Linked DNA regions of Homo sapiens: region 2 is linked to region 1. The links are contacts of gene promoters, found by promoter capture Hi-C in human tissues and cell types (Jung and others, 2019). All regions are on one chromosome and are shown on one strand. Each heading gives the region's core, a stretch centred on a gene start or on the middle of the fragment in contact. The rest is flanking DNA. Distances are from core to core; before and after follow the strand shown. Region 1 holds the start of FBF1 (Fas binding factor 1). Region 2 holds the start of UBE2O (ubiquitin conjugating enzyme E2 O).

What was found. The method cuts DNA at HindIII sites, captures the fragments that hold promoters and counts their contacts. A contact is called where the count stands out against the background at its distance.
Region 2: a contact is called between the fragment with the promoter of UBE2O here and the fragment with the promoter of FBF1 in region 1, in 2 of the 25 tissues and cell types used here (H1 embryonic stem cells and spleen).

What each region holds. Positions count from the first base shown.
Region 1 is chr17:75,939,035-75,942,878 of GRCh38, forward strand. FBF1 (Fas binding factor 1) reads right to left here and starts at 2,008. Exons shown (of 30, transcript NM_001319193.2): 1 at 1,814-2,008. ACOX1 (acyl-CoA oxidase 1) reads right to left here. Exons shown (of 14, transcript NM_004035.7): 14 at 2,473-3,844. RefSeq lists a silencer at 1,777-2,046 and an enhancer at 2,157-2,226. The HindIII fragment of the contact is 5,258 bases long and covers 1-3,844 here.
Region 2 is chr17:76,451,258-76,455,101 of GRCh38, forward strand. UBE2O (ubiquitin conjugating enzyme E2 O) reads right to left here and starts at 1,895. Exons shown (of 18, transcript NM_022066.4): 1 at 1,468-1,895. The coding sequence starts at 1,884. It also overlaps a transcript of AANAT not described here. RefSeq lists silencers at 1,247-1,446, 1,567-2,106, 1,901-2,069. The HindIII fragment of the contact is 12,276 bases long and covers 1-3,844 here.

The sequences.
Region 1 (3,844 bases), core at 758-3,257:
CCTGTTATCCCAGCACTTTGGGAGGCTGAGGTGGGCAGATCATTTGAGGTCAGGAGTTCAAGACCAGCCTGACCAACATGGTGAAACCCCATTTCTACTAAAAATACAAAAATTAGCTGGGCATGGTGGCATATGCCTGTAATCTCAGCTACTCAGGAGGCTGAGGCAGGAGACTAGGTTGAACCTAGGAGGAGAAGGTTGCAGTGAGCCGAGATCGCCCCACTGCACTCCAGCCTGGGCAACATGCGAGACTCTGTCTCCAAAAAAAAAAAAAAAAAAAAAACGTGCTCTGGATAACTTAATGGGCTTTCTGAGGCTTTGAGATTACTTGAAAAAAGGGCAGTGGCCATCATCCCTTACCCTGAAAGCCGATGCAGCAAGTGGCAAGTACTCATTTCAGAAAGGAGGTGGGTGCCTGGCACCAAGGCTGAAACCCTTTCCCAGGCAACACCCATGACTACTTTCTAGGCAGCATTTAGCACAAAAGCAGGTATGAACTCTGGTTACTCTTTGATATTCTTTTTCTTTTTAAAATTTTTTTTTTCGAGACGGGGTCTCACTGTGTTACTCAGGTTGGTATTGAACTCTGGGGCTCAAGCAATCCTCCTGCGTTGGTCTTCCAAAGTGCTGGGATTACAGGTGTGAGCCACCACGTCCAGCAACACGATTTTCACTGACAGTGGAAATATTTCCCTTTACATAGGCAGTAAATCTGACCCATTGAGAACATTTTCCTCGGAATTAGCTGTCTCCCTCCCCCTCCTCCACTTTACCAAAACCCACCTACAGGATGTCCTGGAAGAAAGGAGTCAGAGGGGTCCTCTTTATGTCCCAAGTATTGGCCTGTCCTGTTATTGGAATGCAAGGGTTATCTGGGCTTACCTACAGAGCCCACCCTGAATACATGTGTTTTCTTTTTTTTCTTTTTTTAGACGGAGTCTTGCTCTGTTGCCCAGGATGGAGTGCAGTGGTGCGATCTTGGCTCACCACAACCTCAGCCTCCCGGGTTCAAGCGAATCTCCTGCCTCAGCCTCCCGAGTAGCTGGGAATACAGGCACATGCCACCATGCCCGGTTAATTTTTGTATTTTTAGTAGAGACGGGGTTTCACTGTTGGCCAGGAGGTCTCGAACTCCTGACCTCGTGATCTGCCCGTCTCGGCCTCCCAAAGTGCTAGGATTACAGGTGTGAGCCACCACGCCTGGCCTTCTTTCTTTTTTTTTTTTCCAGACAGGGTCTCGCTCTGTTGCCCAGGCTGGAGTGCAGTGGCACGATCACAGCTCTCATAGCTTACTGCAGCCTCGACCTCCTTGGGCTCAGGCGATCCTCCAATGTCAGCCTCCCTAGCAGCTGGGACCACAGGCACACGCCACCATGTGCGGCAAATTTTAAAATTTTTTTTGTAGAGACGGGGGTCTCCCTATGTTGCCCAGGGTCGTCCCAGACGCCTGGCCTCAAGTGATCCTCCCGCCTTGGCCTCCCAAAGTGTCGGGATTACAGGCGTGAGCCACCGTGCCCGGCCTTGTTTCTTTTTCTCTGCAATGGCGACTTCACGACCTACAAGTCCAAATGTGTCCCATAACACATCAAGGAACTTCTGGCATCTCCTATCGATCCTGTACGGGCTTCTCAGACTATGGGGATTTTCTAGGCTTGGTTTGCCAAGGCCAAAGGGCTACAGAGTAACCCCGTCCCCACATGTATTCAGCCGACTCCATGCCAGGCGTTTTACAGATCCCGAGACCACCCCTAAGCAAGACCCCTAGCCGGAGTCGCCCCTCCGTCCCGAGACTCCGCGCCCCTCAATGCGTCACCCTTCTGAGCGCCCGGCCTATCTGGCCCCGGAGCGCAGCCTGTAACGCTCTCAGCCCCGGAAGCCTCCTGTTACGCGCCGTGCCCCCGGAGGTGCGGCCGCTGGGACCAGCGCCGGCCCTGGCTCCATTCGGGTCGCCCAGCCCGGCCAGGACTGGCCTCCCGCTTCCAGCCGCTGCCGGCACCCTCAGCCGTCTGGCCTCCCGCGGAAAGGCGGGCGCGAGGCATCCTGGGAGTCGCAGTCGGCGGTCGACTCACCCGCCCTCACAGAGGAGGTGGGGACGCCATGAAGAACTACAGCTCCCAGGGAGCCGCGCGCGGCAGTTGGCGGGGCCGGGCTTCTGCCGGCGGCGGGCACGTTGCTAGGAGCTGCCCCAACGCCTCTCCGGGAAGAGGGCGCCAGGCTCAAAGGCCCTCTTGGGAACTGCCGGGAAGCTTAAAAGTTCCTCCTGCCCACTTCTGAGGGCTGACACGTGGCCGACGCGGAGGCGTGAGAAATGTGTTGATATTGGGAGGTTGACGGGTGAATCCACAAATTCACCGGTGTTTATTCCACACCCCAAAGCTTGAGGGAAGTGACTGACCTGTTTAATGATCCAATCAAAGCTGTATAGCCAGAATGAAACCCAATACTGTCGCCCCACAAAAAGATTAAGTCACATTTTTTCTAGTATGTGCTAATTATGAATTTTATTAAGGTTTATTCAATGTCACAGAGGAAAGAACGGTTTGTAGTTTTGCTTACCCGCAGTGCTGGCAGGTCACAGCTGTCCAACCATGATCCATTCACATGCTCTGGCCCCGTGCCCCTCGTCCTCCCACCCCTACCCCACAGGACACCATTAAGCCAGGGCTGGGTAACAACATATGCTCAATGCATCTTCTCAGGTGAGAACCAAACTCGAGCCACAACAGCAAAGGGGGAAAAAGGTAGCAAAGTAATTATGTGCTCCCAAGGCAGTCATTTAGTTGAATCCATAACTGGAAATAAAAAGGCATTTATGAAGTGTAGTCCGCAGTCTGAATGTGGAAGGTGGAAGATCACACATTTACTAAGAAACACTCAAAACATATTTTGGTTCAGAATTCTAAAAAATCCCGAATTTTCCATGATCTTCCCAAGACAACCAATGACCCACTTAAATTTAAGGCAAAAACACCCTTGAATCTAGGAATGTGCACATATGCAACAGCTAACATCTGGTAACTCTAATAATGTTCCTTATATGTTTCTGTGTTTACTATCATGAACCATAGGAAGAAGTACTGGAAAATTTAGTAAGTGTGGACAGTTAAAAACACTGGCCCGGCACGGTGGCTCACGCCTGTAATCCCAGCACTTTGGGAGGCCGAGGTGGGTGGATCACGAGGTCAGGAGTTCAAGACCAGCCTGGCCAACTTGGTGAAACCCCTGTCTCTACTAAAAATACAAAAAAACTAGACAGGCATGGTGGCAGGCGCTGTAATCCCAGCTTCTCAGGAGGCTGAGGCAGAGAATTGCTTGAACCCGGGAGGCAGAGGTTGCAGTGAGCCAAGATTTCGCCACTGCACTCTACCCTGGGTGAAAGAGCAAGACAACGTCTCAAAAAAAAAAAAAAAAAAAAAAGCAAAACCCCACCATCAATATTTTAAAATAAAAAGTCGTTTTAGTCAATTACAGTGTGACTTGTTCTAATCCTCCAAGAATGGAGTAGTAAAGAAACAGCAGAAATGACTTCCCTGCATTATTTCATGAAAATGATCAAAACCTTTATCTAAGTCAGAACATCAACAAGACTCTTGGTCTCAGGTCATCAGTTTCCTGGCACTCCTCCTCTCTCTAGCTGTAGTAGCAGCTACTGCTTGAAGACAACCTATATATCCCAGGCATACCCTCTACACGTATAAAAAGATGTGCAGGTGTTACAGACCACCTACACCTAATTCACTTCCTTTCTAATAAGATGGATGGAATAACTCGGAAAAGGGAAAGGAGGGATTTTGAGCCGCAGTTGTCTAAAGAATTATTGATTCACAGGGATCTCCAAGATCAT
Region 2 (3,844 bases), core at 645-3,144, 510 kb after region 1:
AACCCTCTTTTACTGACACAATACTGGGTAATTTTTAACAAGCATTCTGTTGCACAAAAGTAATATTTTCCAAATACTCTTGTAAATGGACTGATAATTTTCCTTCCAAGTCTCAGAGCTGTTGCCTGATTCACATTTCTCTGAGGGGAAGCAGGGTCCTGTGTGTGGATTTGTGTCTGTGGATGTATGTGCATCCCCAACAAAAAGACCCCGCTGGTATCAGCAGTCACTTCTGCCTCTAGGAAATGGATCATGTGCTCTTCTCTGGAGTGGGGCCTTTTTCCTTCTCAAGCCGTTGTCACAGACCCCGCTTTGTAGTTTGACATGAAACCCCGTTCCTCTGTAGTCTTTGTCTCCCACTGTGTGAGAAACCCAGATCAACTTCCAAAGTGCCCTCCCCTGAAATCAGACCTCTCAACCTCCCAAGGACCTAAAACAGCGTAGGCCTGATTCCTGCTTAGAAATGTTTTCTTGAAGGGGAGGGGAAGTAGGAGAGAAAGAAGGGGTGTGAGATACAGGGGGGTGTGTGTGTGTGTGTGTGTGTGTCAATTACTGATAGGAATTCACATTCTGGAAAACAAGCCACCAAACCAACCCGGGTTCAAGGTTTCGGGTTTATGATGACAAGCCTCTTTGTTTTGTAAAACTGCTATACTCACTAGCATCACCCCAAAAACCATACGGGAGTCAGATGTCTGCTTAACAGCTTCAGGTCAAGAAAAAACCTTCGGGTTTCCAAATTGGTGACTCCCCTCTACCCAGGGTTCTGGATTATTTTTTTCAAGGAGTCCATATGCACTTAGGAGTCATCAATCCCGGTCGCAGCTGTCAGAATCCTCCCCCCCAAGTACTATTCATACCGGGGCTCTGATTGCTAATGATTTTACTCACAAAGTTCCCTGCAGCAATTAAAAGGAGGCAGCAGGGTAAAACAAAAAGAGGCTGGGTGGCTTCACCATAATGCAGCCTGTAAGCTAGTGAACTTCTTGGGTTCGGCTGGGATTTTCACCTCTATCTTTGTTTTGGAATGCCCACAACCCCTCCCTGCACGGACCCGGCACGGCCTTCATTTCTGGATGCACAATGCAGTACCGAGCTCCTTGGGGGTCAGCAAAACGCCGCACTGGTGTAACGCCGAACGCGCCCCAGAACCTGAGTCCCCACGGGAGTCGGTCCACGTCTCTAAATCTCGAGGCCGACACCACAGCATAACATGTCTTAGAAGTCCCCTCAAGTCGGGAAGCCCAGGGCCCGCCCGGTCCCGGGCCAGCAGTGCCTGGCTGGCGTGTGCGCCCAGAGCTGCTGCAATGACTTTGCATGGAGTGTACCCTCCACTGGGGCTGTCCTCCCGCGTCGGCCACTGCAGTGGCACCGCTCCGGGCAGGGCCCTGCACGCCGTCCTTCCCTGGCCTCGGCCCGGCCGCCGACCCCCTGCCGCCCGCGCCGCCCAGCCCCCGCCCGCCGCACCTTGGTCTCCTTCACATGCTGCTTGACGCCCTCCGGGTACCACTGGACGCGCACGTAGCCGCGGCGCAGGGGGCTGGCCCGGCCCTCCTCGTGGCCCGCGCCCCCGGCCTCGGAGCACCCCGAGCTCCCGCGGCCCTCCTCCTCGCCCTCCGAGTCCGAGTCCTCGCCGTGGATGAGGCGCACCAGCCCGAAGTGCACGGAGCCACGGTAACGGCCCGACACCAGGTCGTGAGAAAACAGCAGGCGCTGCGAGCCGGCTTCTGGGCCGGAGTCCGAGGACGGCCCGGAGGCCGAGTCCGAGGCGGGCGCCGGCGCCGGGACGGGGGCTGCGGCTGGGGCCGGGACTGCCTCCGGGGCTGGAGCCGGGGCCTGGGCTGGAGCGGGAGCTGCGGGCGTGGGGGCTGCGGGATCCGCCATAACTGCTCTGCGCGAGTCTCGGGCGGCGGCGGCGACAGCGGCGGCGAACGAGGCGCGGGGAGGCGGGACCAGCGGGCGCCGGGGGCGGGGCCATAGCGCGCTGACGTGTCCCTGCGTGGCGCCGTCGTCAGGGAGCCGGGATGCAGTTGCTAGGAGCCACCGCCTCGTCGCTAGGGGACGCTGAAGATGCCGCGGGGGGCGGGGGCAGGATGGAATCCACTAAGAAGGGGCGAGACCAGTGAGGATTCAACTAAAGGGAGCGAGAAGGGGCGGGGACCCGGGAGGAGGAAGTGGAGTGGCCACCGAGGAAGAGGGGAGTGGTCGGGGTGGGGCACAGGATGGTGGAGAGACTGTCAACAACTTTTAATGAGCTCCCTTGGCGTCCTAGCCTAGCCCCCAGGCACTGGGAGCATTGCAGAAAGAGAAAGATACTGTCCCTGTCCTCTAGGTGTTTCCAGTCTAGTTGGGGAGACAAAACAAATACACATTAAATAGATAACAAACAACTCCAACTTGTAAGGCTATAATAGATACGTGTAGAGCATATGTATAATGCACTGTATTCAGGAATTCCAAGCAGTTCGAACGTCATGACCCCTCAGAAGTTGACCCAGAAGCTGGTGAAGGAGGCCCAGAGAAAGGTAACAAAAGGATCAGTGGTCCCAGTGGTTTGGCTACAAATCCATGCAGATAAATTCAAAGCTCCCTGAAGCCAAGAATGAATGGCAAGAGGTAGTATAGTAAGGTAGCTAAGAGTGGGGACCACGGATTCCAATTTTTGGCACTGCCACTTACTAATCTATAAAAATAGGCACACTGATTAACTTATTTTCATCTTAATTTGCTCATCTGTGAAATAGGGATGATAATAGCAATACTCATCTCATTGGGCAATTGGAGGATTAAGTGAAGTAGAACAGTGCCTGGCATTTAGCTCCTTCGATAAGCTTAACCATTGTTGTACTATTTCCAAACTCCCTGCCTAGACTAAATTCCAGACTGGCAGAACTGTTATGGTCTGCTCCATATTGTCATTTTAAAATATAAAAAGTAGGCCGGGCGCGGCAGCTCACACCTGTCATCCCAGTACTTTGGGAGGCTGAGGTGGGCGGATCACGAGGTCAAGAGATTGAGACCATCCTGGCCAACATGGCGAAACCCCATCTCTACTAAAAATACGGAAAAAAAAAAAAAATAGCTGGGCGTGGTGGCACATGGCTGTAGTCCCAGCTACTCAGGAGGCTGAGGCAGGCAAATCGCTTGAACCTGGGAGGCTGAGGTTGCAGTGAGCCCAGATCGCGCCACTGCACTCCACCCTGGGCAACAGAGCAAGACTCTGTCTCAAAAAAATAAATAAATAAAAATAAATAAAATATAAAAAGTAACTCTAGGGCCAGGCGTGGTGGCTCATGCCTGTAATCCCAGCACTTTGGGAGGCAGAAGCAGATGGATCACCTGATCACCTGAGGTCAGGAGTTCAAGACCGCCCTGGCCAACATGGCGAAATCCCTTCTCTACTAAAAGTACAAAAATTAGCTGGGCGTGGTGGTGTGCACCTGTAGTCCCAGCTACTTGGGAGGCTGAGGCAGGAGAATTGCTTGAATCTGGGAGGCAGAAGTTGCAGTGAGCCGAGATCATGCCACTACACTCCAGCCTTGGCAACAGAGCAGGACTCTGTCTCAAAAAACAAAAAACAAAAAAAAGGCTGGATGTGGTGGCTCTTGCCTGTAATCCCAGCACTTTGGGAGACCGAGGCGGGTGGGAGACCCGAGGTCAGGAGTTCAAGACCAGCCTGGCCAAGATGGTGAAACCCTGTCTCTACTAAAAATACAAAAATTAGCCGGGCGCGGTGGCAGCCGCCTGTAATCCCAGCTACTCGGAAGGCTGAGGCAGGAGAATCACTTGAACCTGGGGAGTGGAGGTTGTAGTGAGCCTAGATCGCGCCGCTGCACTCCAGCCT